Regions from separate parts of the Homo sapiens genome. Here region 1 is linked to region 2. Evidence: promoter capture Hi-C in 16 types of primary human blood cells and fetal thymus (Javierre and others, 2016). All regions are on one chromosome and are shown on one strand. Each heading gives the region's core, a stretch centred on a gene start or on the middle of the fragment in contact. The rest is flanking DNA. Distances are from core to core; before and after follow the strand shown.

Region 1 (7,453 bases), core at 2,637-5,136, 2.8 Mb after region 2:
TTTTTATTTTTTGAGACGGAGTCTCACTCTGTCACCCAGGCTGGAGTGCAGTGGTGCAATCTCAGCTCACTGCAACCTCTGTCTCCCCGTTAAAGTGATTCTCCTGCCTCAGCCTCATGAGTAGCTGGGACTACAGGCATGAATCACCATGCCCGGCTAATTTTTGTATTTTTAGTAGAGACAGGGTTTCAGTATGTTGGCCAGGCTAGTCTTGAACTCCTGACCTCAAATGATCCACCTAACTCAGCCTCCCAAAGTGCTGGGATTACAGGAATGAACTACCGCCCCTGCCCCCACACTCTATTCTGAATGCATGTATGGGCACATGTGCATGCCTGTCCCCTTTCACTCAGTGATAAGGAAGAAGGGGAACCAGAAATTTCTGTTTGAGAAATTAGTAACAGAAATGGGTGTGGGGAGCTGGTTACCTGGGAGATCCTTGTTCATTTGTAACATCAGGAACTGCTTCTTTTCCTCCTTCTCTCTTCTAGAAGACTGTCAAGGAGCCCGAGTGAGGGAAGCAGACCAACCATGGTCTTGGAGAAAAGAAAATAGGGTTTCCATCCCTTCTGGAGGGAGAAGGAATAGCAGAGATGAACATGAATGAAGAAGGAAACAAATGGAAATAAACAAAATGAAGGTAAATACCCTATATGTTAAAAGAAAAAAATACCCTATATGTTAAAAGAAAAAAGAAAAGAGAAGGAAGAGACACAAGGAAAGAAAGAGAGAAGCAAAGAGGTTAGGAATAGGGTAAGAGAAAAGGAAAAACAGCAACCAGCAGAGGAATCACTCCCCTGTTAAGGTTAACCAGGAGGAGAGGCTTATATAAGGCATGAATGTGAGTGGGTATGAGAGTCCAGCTTTCCCACTGCACTTGCTCTGGTTATGGAGCAGACTGCCATCTTCTGGTGCCATTTACTATTCAAGTTGCTTTGGTGTTTTTTTGTTTTTGTTTTTTTTTTTTTTTTTTTTTTACAACCAAGTGGATTGATTGAAATGCTTTGATTCTTCATTTGAAATGTTTCTATTCCATATACCCATTATCTTTTATCCTCACAAAAGCCCTTAACATTGTTTCCTTTAATCTTTGGGGTTCTTAAGCATCATTTCCACCAACAGAGATGTACCTACCCACAGTTGTCTCAGAGCATGGAGGCTGAAAGTCTGTGAGGACAAGAGTGAAATGGAGCAGAGGATAGGCTGTGGTTTGGAAGCGGCTCTGGAATACGCTGGGGGTGGCGGTGGGGCTGAAGGTTGGTTATGGGATGCTTCCTGGGCTCCGGAACATCTGTGCCAAAAACTGGAGGACCCATCCTCGGCTCCAGCCAGACGCTTGGGGTGCTATGTATTCTGAACCATAGCACTAGGTTGGAAAATTTGGCTCCTAATCTATACTCTGCCATGTACAGATCACAAAATATCATACAAGGAGCCTTAAAAGGTCATCTAACCTAAATCCAGTTTCCCAAGGAGAACACTGGGGCACAAAGAAGTGAGAGGTAACTCGCCCAAAGTTATATAGCTAGTCAGGGACTTCCTCTTCGGAGACAAAGGAAATCAGAATAGTGATTCTTCTGATTCACCGTCCCTCGACAAACAGTCCACAAAGTGCTTGGAGGTTATTAAAAGGCACCCCAGAAAAGTAAGGCTGGCATTTTCCTGGAAGCCCCTGAGTGTACAACCCCTGAGGCTCAGTATTTGGCTATAAAAACAGGTCTGGAGTTGCTTTGGCCTCCGTTTTAATCCCTAAAGCTGCCTGGAGGCTGGAGCTCTGATAGCTACCTGTCATCACTCCCCAGCCAGTCCGCGGACACCGCAGCCAGGAACTGTCAGAGGTGACAAGGGAATCCCGTCATAATGCCAAGGACCAAGGAGCAGTGGCCAGGTTCCTGGGATTAAGCAAGGCAATTATGGCTGAGTTAAAGCTAGGATGGGTAGGACAGGGGGATCTGAGGTGGAAAAGGCCGGTAAGAAGAGGGAATGCGCCAGCAATGTAAATGCCTTCGACTGGGTGGGCTACTTCACATCATACCTCCTCCATCTCCAAAAGGTTCTTAACCTTCTTCAACCGCCTAGGCCTGATGGACCTCCTCCCTTTCTCCCAGAGCCCACTCACTGAAGGGAAGGCCACCATCATCCCCATTCTTTTCCTTTTTTTATAATCCCTCCGGTGCCGTTTCGGGTCTCCTTCCTCCTATATTCTGAGTTCCTTCCACTCACATCCAACCAGCTTTTAACACCCGGATCTCCCGGAGCTTCTTTGGTTCCGCTCACTCCCCCCGCCCCCACGCCCCCACGCCCCCACGCCCCTGATTTCCCCACCCTTTTCGCCCTCCCCGGCTTGACTCCCTTGGACCGCTCCCGCCAATCCTGGTCTCTCCTACTCCTCCCCGCCACATCGGGTCGCCCCGCCCCCGGGTGCCTTTGGTGTTTTCCGCCGTCGGCCGCAGGCGCCTCGTCTCAGATAAAGTGGATCCAGCCCTGCGGCTCCGGAGCTCCGCCACTGCCCGGGTGCTCGGGCCCACGTAGAGCATAGTCACGGCCGCCGTTGTTGTCCCAGAACTCGTGACCTGTCACACGGTAGCGCAAGGCGAAGAGCAGGGCGCCCCCAATCGGCGGCGCGGGCAGGCGGAAGGCGAAGCGGTCGGCGCGCGGCGGGGGCGGGGCCGGACCGGCGTAGGCGGCTGGCGCCTCGCGTTGGCTCCGCCAGCCGTCGGCGCTCCAGCGCACGCTCACGCGCTTCTCGTAGGCCAGGTCCACCACGCGCGCGCTCCCGGCCACGCCCAGCGGGCCCGCCTCGGCGCGTTCCAGGCAGATGCGCTGCGTCAGCAAGCGGGCGGCGAAGCCGGGCTCGCTGGCCGGCTCCAGGGCGGCGCGCGCCTCCTGGGGGAAAGAAGAAGCGGGAGGAGGGAGCCCAGGGCGGAGAGAGGGGAGAGACAGGGGGCGGTGTCAGAGCAAGGCACTGGACCAATCAGAGGCCGACCCCGGCGTCCAGGCCGGCAGAGTGCGGCCCAGCTGCCAGGGTGGCCTAGAGCCACTCGCAGATGGGGTCCCCAAAAGGGATGGGCAGGCGCAAGCCCAGGGATGGGATGGAGATGGGTGCTCTTTGGCAAATCCACTCCCACAAGCCCGCTGCGGCCGACTGGAGGAGGTCCCCAGGAGGGGAGGTGCCCCCGCCGCCTACCTGGAGGCCGCGGGCGCGGGGCTGGCAGGGCGCGAAGTGGCGGAGGGCGTCCCTCTGCAATTGGATCTGCACGTGGCGGGGCACCCGGGGCAGCTCACCGGGACGGAAGCGGCGCACGACAGCCAGCTCCAACCCCAGTGCGTCGGCGAAACGCACTCTCTTGCGGGTGTCTGGGCTACGGCTGCGGGGCGCCCGGGCCCCGCCGCCTCCGGCTGGTGCAGATCGGGCCCGGCGGCCCCGACTCGGTGCGTGAGCGCGGGATCGGGCCCCGAACCGCGTCCCGCCCTCGCCTGGCTCCTCCTCCGGCTCCTCCTCGAGGCTGGGCCGCTGGCTACGGTAGTAGGCGCGCTCCGTTAGCGCGGCGATGAAGCTCAGGTTGCGGGGAATGTCGGTGCCCGGGGGCCGCTCACGGGACATGGCAGCCCCTTCCCCGGCGGGGCCAGCTCGCAGCGCCACCGCGCTCCCCTCTCTTCCTCTCTCCCGCCCGCCCCGCGTCAGCGCAGAAGTCGCTGGGTCCGCTTCTGCAGCCCCTCGCTGCTGTGTATTCTCCTTGCAGACACCTCCAGGATCCTCCACCTCCCGTTGCTTTGCCTCTCCTCTGTGACCACCCTTCCCTCCCTCTGGCCGTCAGCTTCCAGGGTCTTAGACTATCACATCCTGCCTCCTGCTAGCGGTCTGCTCTGAGCGTGCGCTCAACTGCACTCACCCTCCGGTTCCAAGGCCCTCACGGCCCGGGCGCCCCCGCCCACAGCCCTCTGACAGGTGGCTCCGCTTGTCTTCGCTGCTGCACCAGGGGGCGGGGACTCCACCTTTGCGGTCCCGAGTGAAGCTACTCAACCTTTTAAAAAAAACATCCACGGACGGGACGCGATGGCTCACGCCTCAAATCCCAGCACTTTGGGAGGCCGAGGTGGGAGGATCGCTTGAAGCCTGGAGTTCAAGACCAGCCTGGGCGTCATAGTGAGACCCCTGATCTCTACAATAATAATAATAATAAAATGTAAAAAGTCCTCAACTTTTCCGGCACAGCACAGGAAAGGTTAACGCCGGGAAGAAAAAATAACCTTTCATTTTCTTGCAGGGGAAGGTTCAAAACGCCCAGCATGTGACTTTATCTTTGGGGTTCACTGTTTTCTTTTCTGAAACCTAGGCTCCTGGTTTGGGCAGGGGGTGGTGGTGCGTGCAAAGAAGGAAAGGTCATGAAAGCTAGGTAGAGTCTTTCAAATAGAAGGTGAGAATATGGCACCCGAACTGAGAACTGCAGGAAGACCTAGCTTCTAGTGACCTTGAGCAAGCAAGGCATAACTTCTCTGGAGTCAGTGTTCTCGTGTGTGTGTGTGTGTGTGTGTGTGTGTGAGTGTGAGATGGAGTCTCGCTCTGTCGCCCAGGCTGGAGTGCAGTGGCGTGATCTCGGCTCACTGCAACTTCTGCCTCCCCGGTTCAAGCGGTTTTCCTGCCTCAGCCTCCTGAGTAGCTGGGATTACAGGCGTCCACCACCACGCCCGGCTAATTTTTGTATTTTTAGTAGACACGGGGTTTCACCATCTTGGCCAGGCTGGTCTTGAACTCCTGATCTCAGGTGATCTGCCCGCCTCGGCCTCCCAAAGTGCTGGGATTACAGGTGTGAGCCACCCCTGAACTCAGAGCCATACTCTGAACTCAGTGTTCTTATCTGTAAAAAAGTGGTGGAGTTCTGATTTCTAATCCAAGTGTAAGCCCTTTGAGGGCAGGGGCTTTGTCTGATTCATGGTGAGTTTTAGTATATGGTAGGCACTCAAATTATTGAATGAACAAGCACCCAACAACTCTCTTGGAGTTGGGACTGTGGAATTATAGGTCCAGTGGGAGCTTCCAAGAAGGGCAGAGCTGGCTTTTTCCCCTTTCATTTTTTTTTTTTAACATTAGTGAAAAAAAAAAGTGAAGTTGTTTTTAGTTTTTTTCTAACTTTCCTACTGATCTAATATAGCACTTACAATGTGCTAGGTACTGTTGTAAGGGTTTTACAAATACTAACCCATGTAATACAACCATCAGAGGAATAGAGACTATTATGTCTAGTTTAAAGATGAGAGAATTGAGGGAGAGAGGGGAGAGGACTCTTACCCAGGGTCACATAGTTAATAATTGGGGAGGTGGGATTAGGACCTAAACAGTTTAGCTCTAGAGTCCACGCTCTTACCCGCTTGGTTATATAAGATTAAAACATTTAACAATAATAGTTAACATCCTCAGAGTGTTAAAAGAGGGAATATTAGAGTAGAAATGAAGTCTCTAAATTTAAAGCAGCAGGATAGTTTAACTGTAAAACCACAAGTGACTAAGTTGAAAATAAACCATGAGACACATGTTATCTTATTATTATACAATTCATTCCTGTTTACATGCATTCGCACTAGTATTGACTGTAGCAATACTAGTTAGCTAGGACTCATTTTTAAAGCAATATTGACTTTTTAAATTTTACACGTATATAGAATGCATGGATGTATTCTCTTCGTATCATTATATGTGATACAATATATACAATGTATATATTGTATATGCATATACAATATAATATATATAATGCATATAAATTAATGTCTAATAAATCATACATTAATTTATGTTACAATCAAGCTGGCCCAGGAGTTTGAGATCAGTCTGGGCAACATAATGAGATCCCTATCTCTATAAAAAATGAATTTAACCAAGCATGGTGCAGTACACCTCTAGTCCCAGCTACCAGGGAGGCTGAAGTGGGAAGATTGCTTGAGCCTAGACGGTGGAAGCTGAAGTGAACTGTGCTTGTACCACTGCACTCCAGTTTAGGCCATGGAGTGAGAACCTTGTATCACAAACAAACAAATAAACCAGGAGTGCAAATGAAGACTTGGACTAGGTTATTCTCTAAAGAAGAGGGCAACCTTGCTGGTGGCAGCCAGAATGATCAGGCTAAGAGCAAAAATGAAATGAGGATGGTTGAAAGGATACAGCCATAAAGGAGTGTAATAGGCTGTGTGTTTAGAATAGAGGAGAGAATTGAGTATGGACTTGTAAATGGTGTGGATTCAGACTATGAGAACCATATTGACTATGTGAAGGCAAGAGGTGATCTTGAAGCGATAGTGTCAAAGTTACAGCATGAGATGGCTGTGCTAGCTTCTTACATATCAGCCTATGGCTTTGGGAAAATCACTTAACCTCTCCAAACCTCAATTTCCTCATTCATAGAATGAGGATAAAACAGCATAAGGACTGGTGAGAGGAAAAAATACACATGTAAAAAAAGCACAGCATCTAATAACTCCTCAAAATATGTTAGTTTTTACCTTTTTTTTTTTTTGAGATAGAGTCTCGTTCTATCACCCAGTCTGGAGTGCAGTGGCATGATCTCAGCCTCCTGGGTTCAAGTGATTCTCATGCCTCAGCCTCCTGAGCAGCTGGGATTACAGGCTGGCTAATTTTTGTATTTTACGTCTGGCTAATTTTTGTATTTTTAGTAGAGATGGGGTTTTGCCATGTTGGTCAGGCTGGTCTCGAACTCCTGGCCTCAAGTGATCCACCCGCCTTGGCCTCCCAAAGTGTTGGGATTACAGGTATGAGCCACCGAACCCAGCTAGTTGTTACTGTTATTGCTGCAGAAAAGACCTTGCTTCTCCAGTGACCATAAGGGAAGATGGTAATACAGAGGCTTGGATTGGAGGTAGAAGCAAAGGGAGCTAGCAGAATAGGAGAATTAGGTTGCCTCTTTCTGGCCTTTGGTTGGGGCACTCTTTAAAAAAGTGCCAGATCCAAGAGCCCAGGGGGCTGGCTGTGAGTGCCCTCATGTGGATCAGCTATGGTCAGACTGCTTCACGCCTGTGACCTGCCCTGTATAAATATACTGCCATGTATAAATAATGGCCCCATATATATGTAATCTGGAAGGATAAACATCAAGCTTAACACTGGCAACCTGCAGGGAGGGAAGTGGAATTGGGTGTGTATGTGTGTGTGTGTTTGAGAACCTGTATTTTATTACTCCGCACGTCTTTATTGTTTGATTTTTTTCATAATGAGAATGAGTTTGTGTGTTGGGTAAAAAAAAGAAAAAGAAAAAAACCCCACTAAAATCAATCTAATTACAAAAGAAGATGAATTAAAGAAAAGTACCGAGAGAAACTGCTTGTGATCCAAGTCCTGGCTCCCTAATGCCTGGCTGAAGCCCAGCCCACAAAGAGAACACTGGGTTAAAGGTCCTGGAGAAAAGATGGGAAAGGTTTGGTGTCTATGTGGTGTCTGCTA
Region 2 (7,464 bases), core at 1,510-4,009:
ATCGCCGTGCATGCTTCCATGTGCCAAACTGATGAAGATAAGGAGGGAGAAGAAAAGAAAGATGGGGTTAATGTTGGTCTCCACTACCTCCTATTAGTTCTAAGAACAGTAATAACTCACGCTTCAGTCCTTGTTCCTTATCCACATGTAGCCACCCTCAGGGACCTTCTTAAAGGCAGAGCTGATCAGCTTCCTTCCCTTAGGCGTAACATACTCATCCCATCCCACACTGTATCTCAGTTTTTCTTAATATCTGACAACTGAGCCAGGTTTGAAAAATAGCAACTCTTAAATTAAGAATTTCACTGTCCTATCCTCATCCTACAGAGAAAGGAAGGCTGTTTTTCACTCTTGTAGTAGTAATAAAGTCTGTTTGATCAGCCACTTTGCACTTTAGCTCATCCATATCTTAAAACAAAACAAACTAGTCCCCCAAGTTTCTTCCACTTTTTTTTAGGGTAGCAGTTTCCCAAATCTTAGCCTATGGAGATGAGGCTGCAGAATGAAAGAGGTTGGGGCAAGGGTACTCACGGCAAGGCCAGTGGCAGTGACTGCCAAAAGCAAGCCAAGCAAGAAGCAGCAGATACATCTCTTACGTGGGTATCTGCGCCCAATAGATGACCTGTGGGGAGGCAAATAGAAATGGATGCTTTCTATGGCCTTGTAGTTTTTACTCCATACATCAATTACCAGCTCAATCCCTAATCACTTACACTTTCCTGCAGTGAGGACAACGTGCCAAAGTGCGGTCTGTGAACTCTGTCCACTATGGAGAAAGAAAACAAAAATAATAGCACAAGCAGGGTCTCCCTCAATGAGAACCTTGGGGTGGGGATGCAGAACATGTTCCCATAGGACAGACCTTTCAGGGGTCATTACCATTACTCTAAGAAATATACTCGAAATGACTCTTAGTCTCCTTTCCCCTCCCCTTCCCAATACCCCTTCCTCACCAGAAAAGTATTCTTGCAATGTCCACAGATAACCCTGACACCCATGGGTTGGGGTTCTGGACTCAGAGGTCCGGGATGCACAGGCCCCAGGTTGATGATTCTTTTGCTATACAAAAGAAAAAGACTTGTATTTTCAAACTTGTGTTTGAAAAATTTTTAATCCTAAAAATCTTCACAGTCCCTGTTCCACATCCCCCACTCCCTGTCTATTAAGTCACTCGACTTCTCTGTACTTAAGATACTCTGTCCCCCAACTGTATACCCTCAAGAATCCTTGAGAAAGAAAGAGCACTGTTTAAACTTCAGGTCCCCAATTCCCCTCCGACCTCAGGATAACACACCCAGTCCCCAAGGCTCTCTATTCTCCGAAACGACATCATTTCATCTCAATATTTTTATTGAGAAACGAGAAAGACAGCTATAACATTCCTGAGGCACATGCTTCAAAGCCTTTTCTCCTAAATAAACACTAGGCTCTCTCACCTTTACATTCTCTGTATACGCTCATCCTTTTTTGACTTTCCAGTTCCCCACTTAGGCCCTTCCCCACCTTATGCCTCTTACCAGTAGGGCCGAGGGCATGCAATCCGTTGGGATGTCACTTTGCAGATAAGGAGACAGTTACAGGGGCATCGAACATATTTTTTCCCTGGGGGTGCATTCTTGATTGGCTAGAGAATAATAGGGTCATCAGCAAGCAAACCTCTAATCCCAATCCCCTCCACTTCCCTCCAAAAACACTTTATGAGATCAGAAAAATAAGGTGCTAACCAGGAAGGAGAAATAAAAGAAAGACTATATCATGAGATTTGCAAATAGGAACTAGGCTAGGTGTAAAAGTGAGAGAAAGTGAACATTAGCTTTGGTGAGTGGCTTCTGGGGAAATGGCTGTGTGAGACACCTGGAACTGAAACCTGGGTATCATCAAAAGCACTTGGCTAATAGCCGGAAGGTCAGGGTCTAGAACCAAGACATCAGAAAGAGGATCCAGGAAACAGGGCCCATTTCATAGATATGTGTAACTCACGGTGGCTTCATTGCAGACACCACATTTGACTACATGCTGATGCATCTTGCCTTCCACGTTGATGAGAGATTGGCAGACTCGGCAGGTGATCATAGGGGCACTCCCACTGTCCGGGCTAGTTAAGGGTGAATAGGGGGGTGGGTCCTCCCCAGGCAACACGGCTGGATGCCCCTCGGGAAACGGGGGAAATGCTGGAGAGGAAGCAAATAGAAGGGCTGGGATCACTTACACCCCCACTGATGCTCCACGGTGGTAGGGAAGTCCTTCTGATCTTCAACCCTCTGACCAAGCTCGGAGGGCTTCTCATAATTGGCACTTCTATCAGGTTGCTCAGAACCCCCTTCCGTCCCTAGGCTGTGGTCGCGATTACGGAGGGAAGGAAGCCTCGCCCAGTCACAGGTGCAGCAGTCCCGCACCTGGCGACTGGGACCCGCCTCCGCCCTCGGTCCCGCCCCCTCCCCGGCTTTCAGAGTACCCCGGGGAGCACCTCGGACCCGCCCCGGCTTACCCTGGGGCGGGGCATGTTTACCGGCTCCGTACGGTGGTGCGGAGGGGGTCAGGCCTCCCCCGGGCCCAGCCCCACTCCCGCCGGGCCCCACTAAACCGTTGCCGCCCGCGCCACCGTCGATGGGCTCAGACAGCAGCGGGGAACGCTCTCCATCTGCCGCCATGGCCGCCACCGCCGCCTCCCGCTCAGGTCGGCGATCCGGCTCCCTTCGCCTCTGCCGTCGCCGCAGCCACCGCCACCGCCGCCACCGCCACCGCCGCTACCGGGTCCCCAGGGCGCCTGCGCGCCGCGCGCCCAGCTCACTCCGCAACCAGTGGCCTGCCCCGCCCCGTTCCGTCTAGCAGCACGTGATAGGCTATCCCCGCCCGGGTCATGCTATTATTCGCGTAGATAAACCAATTCCTGGTCCTGTGAAGGCAGCTCTCCTTTTCCATTGGGGAGCGACGCACAAACGTCAACTGTCACATGACCTGCCAGATGCTGCTGGGCTTGCAAAACCTGCACGTGACTAGAGGTTCTGCAAGCTATTGGGAGCGACGCCCATCGCGCTACCTCCAGACCAGGAGGTAGGGCTAGGCTGCGTCTGCTCAACTGGTCACGTGTTTCTGGAAGCTGCACGGTCCCTGTTGCTCTGCTCCTCATTGGTTCAAAGACACCACTAAAACACTTTTCTCCGGCTTTGCGTTGTAGCTGGTTTCCTATTGGCTGGTGACTTTACTTCTTTCGTCCTGTGATCCTAGCGGCGCAACTGCATTGGCCCGAACTTAGCGCCAGAACATGGGGGGCGTGGCTTATGCATTTTAAAGGAGGCTGGGCGGGTGCAATAAAGGAGTGCGGAAGCTTGGGATCTTCTGAGCGGGGAGAAAATGGACGGTGGGGAACAGTAGACAAAGTTAGCTGTTCTACTCAAAGAAGTACCTTTAAAAAGTCAGAGTAATGAGGTACCAGAAGGAAATGGATTAAAAAGTTAAGATTATCACTCCAGCCTTTGTCGCTAGAGTCACTTTCAGGACAGGACACAAGACTGGGTTTTCCTGGAAGCTGTCCTTACAGAGCCCCGTCTTTCCCCATTGCTGATCAAATTGTTAAATTATCTTTTCATTAGTGTCTCCACTACTAGAAGATTTCATCGTTTTACTAAAAAAAAAAAAAAAAAAATTCAATAGAGATGGGGTCTTGCCTATGCTGGACTCAAACTCCTGAGTTTGATCTCCTGCCTAAGCCTTCCCAGTAGCTGGGACTACAGGGACAAGCCACCGTGCCTTTACTCAGTTTTATGACCACCAACCTTTAACATACGCACAAGTTTGTAGATTGGATTAATCAAATACAAGGTTATTTTCGTCACCTTATTTGACAGATGGGACAGTCTTTAGGCCTGTCTCAACTTTGCTTCCAGCAAAGGGGCAGTGCCTCCTCCCCTACCTGAAGTCTCGTGTGGTCTTTATGGGCGCCTGAACCACACCTGGATTTTTTCCCAAGTCATAGCCCAAACTGGGACTGCTTTAAATATGGGAAGCAACAAGGAATTGATAAAAACAATAAACCCCGAGGAGGTCCATTATCAGTTTGGCTAGCAGACTCTCCACTAAGAAAGGAAGTGCATCAAAGAAAGTACAGCCAGCCCCAAATATGTAATAACAAAGGAACTGCAGATGTCCCAGCACTTGGCTGCTACAGGGGCTGGAGACTTCACCTAGGTCCTGATTTTTTTAGACAGGGTTTTCTCAGGCCAACTTCTACTTGGAAGCTAGTAACCTTCGACCAGTTAGATAAGAGCCCCTAACAGACACTTAAAGAACTAAGGAAGCTCCAGATACAAAATAGGGAAGAGGTTGTAGCTCCATAGAGGGAGGCCAGTCTGCTGCTTTTTCTGCTGTTTGTGGCACACAGATGCTCAAGCATTGTCTGGGGTTGGAGTAGGATCCATTATTTGCGCCCTAGTTACACATATATTCCAAAAACTGTCCTAAAAATATTTTTTAAATATCTACACTTTGTGAAAGACACTCCTTAAAAAAGCTTACACTCTGGGTAGGGAGACAGAATAGTGTAAACATTGACAGTATAACATATCAGGTCAGGAGTGGTGGCTCATGCCTGTAATCCCGGTGTTTTGGGAGGCTGAGGTGGAGGATTGCTTGAGCCCAGGAGTTCAAGGTTACAATGAGCCATGATCTAAACCTGGGCAACAGAGCAAGATCGTGTCTCAAAAAAAAAAAAAAAAAAAAGAAAATCAGCACTAGTATTTTATTACATGGAAAAATATCAATACTAGAAATTCATGATACAGCACATGCTTCATAATAAAAGAATTAAACAATGTAATTCAAGTTCAAGAAAAGAAGAGATCACTTCTAGCTAGAGCAGCCAGAGAAAACTTCTAAAACATAAAGAAAAATGAGTATTGTGCATGGATAACTAGGATCTGAGCTCTGTGTTGTTGAGTAGATCAATAGGCAGAAAAATGCAAAAAGTAATCATAATATTTGGAACTTGCTCACAGTTAATAAAGCATTTTTTTTTTTGAGACAGAGTCTCACTCTGTCGCCAGGCTGGAGTGCAGTGGTGTGATCTCTGCCCACCTCCCGGGATCAAGCGATTCTCCTGCCTCAGCCTCCCGAGTAGTTGGGATTACAAGTGTGTGCCACCACACCCAGCTAATTTTTGTATTTTTAGTAGAGATGGGGTTTCACCATGTTGGCCAGGATGGTCTCAATCACTTGAACTCGTGATTCACCCGCCTCGGCCTCCCAAAGTGCTGGGATTACAGGCGTGAGCCACTGTGCCCGGCCAATAAAGCACATTCATAGTTATATTCATTTTATTTCAGAACCCACTGTGATGTGGACAGGGAAGGCAAGACTATATCTTTATTTTACAGATGTGGAAACTGAGGCTGTGTAAACTGGAGTCATTTAAGCTAAGTGACAGATTGAAATGGAGCTCTAAATCCCCGTCTTCTGACTTATGATCTAATATTTTACATTCAAATAATTTGATAGGTAGATTGAAAGGGACAGAAGCACAGAAGTGGCAGAGAGAAGGTGCTTGGGATGAGCCCCCTTTTATGCTAAATGCCTGGAACATAGAAGCTGCTTGATAGATGGCTCTCTAATTAATTAATGAAGTAACTTAAGCCCCATCTTGGGATAAATTTGCTGGGTACTGAACAATATTGTTAGCTGCAGTTGCAAGCAGGGAGGATATTCAGCTGGGGCACTACAGGGTGGCTGGCATTGGTTGTTTATGGCGCCATTGGTTCTGATTGGTTGGTACCTGTATTTTACAGATAAGCCATTTTAATATTATCTCTGGTAAATATTGAGTGTCTCAGGTATTGCCTGATTTTTACCTATGGGGTGGGATCTTCTCACTTAGATTGAGAACAGTTAGGCTATTGAGGTGTATTAATTTGCTAGGACATAAAAAACACTATAGATAGCATAAACGACAAACATTTATTTTCTCACAGCTCTGGAGTCTGGAAGCCCAAGATCAAGATATTGGCAGGTTTGCTTTCTCCTGAGGCTTCTCTCCTTAGCTTACAGATGGCCACCTTCTCACTGTGGCATAAATGGCCTTTTCTCTACACACATTTTTGCTTTCTCTTCCTCTTTCTCTTCTTTTTCCGTGCTTTTAGAGACAGGGTCTCACTCTGTCACCCAGGCAGGAGTGCAGTGGTGCAGTCATAGTCTGTGGCGGCCTTGAACTCCTGGGCACAAGCAGTCCTGCCACCTCAGTCTCCCAAGTAGCTGGGATGACAGGTGCATGCCACCATGCCTAGCTAATATTTTAATTTTTTGTAGAGACAGGGTCTCACTATGTTGCCCAGGCTGGTCATTGGTCTCTAACTCCTGGGCTCAAGTGATCCTCTTGCTTTGGTGTCCAAATGCTGGGATTACAGGTGAGCACCACCCTGCCTGGCCTCTCTTCTTCTTATGAGAACAACAGTCTTATTGGATTGTGGCCCCACCATTATGACCTCATTTAAACTTAATTACCTTTTTAAAGGACTTATCTCCAAATATAGTCACAATGAGGATTAGAGCGTCAATATAAGAATTTGGGGGAACACACTTCATTGTGTTATATAATAGAATAGATTTCAAAGCATTTTTTTCTTTAGATTTCCAACAAAGTGATAACTAGTACAGTGTGTACATGGCCAGAGGATGGGGTGGAAAACATCTGCTTGGCTTCTATGACCCAAAGTGTCCCAATCTGATTTCTTTTTTTTCACATATTCCACATGCCCTATTTCTTTTTTCCTCTTTCCTGAAGTGGTAATTTACCACCTGTGTGAAAACAACACAATCCCTTACTGCATTTCAAAGGCACAGAAAGTTTCTGGTAATGTGCAGAGTGAGTTAACTAAGACGAGGGGTAGTTTGCCGGGGGTTGGGTGGGATTGGGTAGGGTGTGACCTGGTTTTAAAGAATTAATTTACGTTAATTACATTGGGACTTTGCTCCCTTGTGCTCCTTGCTCTTCCTGGGCCTCAGTTCTTTGCTCTTTCCTTTAGGGAATTCCTGGCTTCCCTTTCTAGGAGCCAAGGTCTTTGGAATAGAGGGTGGTAGGCCAGTCCTTTATCTCTGCTCTGTTCTTCCTGCCACTGAGTGAGGCACAGATGGAAGTCTCACTCTTAGAAAAGAGAAATAAAAGTGATCCCTATAACAGAAAGAGAAGGGCTGGATGTGCTGGTTCATGCCCATAATCCCAGTACTTTGGGAGGCTGAGGTGGGAGGATCACTTGAGCCCAGGAGTTTGAGACCAGCCTGGGCAACATGAAGATACCCCATCTCTAAAAAAATAAAAATAAAAAATAGGCGAATGCGGTGGTGCGTGCCTGTAGTCCTAGCTACTTGGGAGGCAGAGGAAAGAGGATCGCTTGAGCCTAGGAGATTGAGGCTGCAGTGAGCTGAGATTGAGCCACTACACTCCAGCCTGGGTGGCAGAGCGAGACCCTATCTAAA

Evidence for each region. Contacts are between HindIII fragments. The CHiCAGO score rates a contact against its expected background, and 5 or more counts as called.
Region 1: the fragment with the promoter of PPP1R3E here is called in contact with the fragment with the promoter of PIP4P1 in region 2 in 1 of 17 cell types (erythroblasts); the score reaches 5.2 in erythroblasts.

The regions. Positions count from the first base shown.
Region 1 is chr14:23,298,973-23,306,425 of GRCh38, forward strand. PPP1R3E (protein phosphatase 1 regulatory subunit 3E) reads right to left here and starts at 3,887. Exons shown (of 5, transcript NM_001276318.2): 1 at 3,188-3,887; 2 at 2,326-2,886; 3 at 1,786-1,892; 4 at 429-569. The coding sequence starts at 3,604. The coding sequence ends at 2,464. RefSeq lists an enhancer at 2,334-2,523 and silencers at 2,584-3,013, 3,024-3,083, 3,164-3,673. The HindIII fragment of the contact is 16,311 bases long and covers 1-7,107 here.
Region 2 is chr14:20,458,675-20,466,138 of GRCh38, forward strand. PIP4P1 (phosphatidylinositol-4,5-bisphosphate 4-phosphatase 1) reads right to left here and starts at 2,760. Exons shown (of 7, transcript NM_144568.4): 1 at 2,510-2,760; 2 at 1,981-2,171; 3 at 1,518-1,624; 4 at 954-1,059; 5 at 714-766; 6 at 532-622; 7 at 1-28. The coding sequence starts at 2,651. RefSeq lists enhancers at 2,080-3,046, 2,975-3,044, 3,047-4,012, 3,345-3,424 and silencers at 2,215-2,384, 2,445-2,854. The HindIII fragment of the contact is 6,669 bases long and covers 1-3,326 here.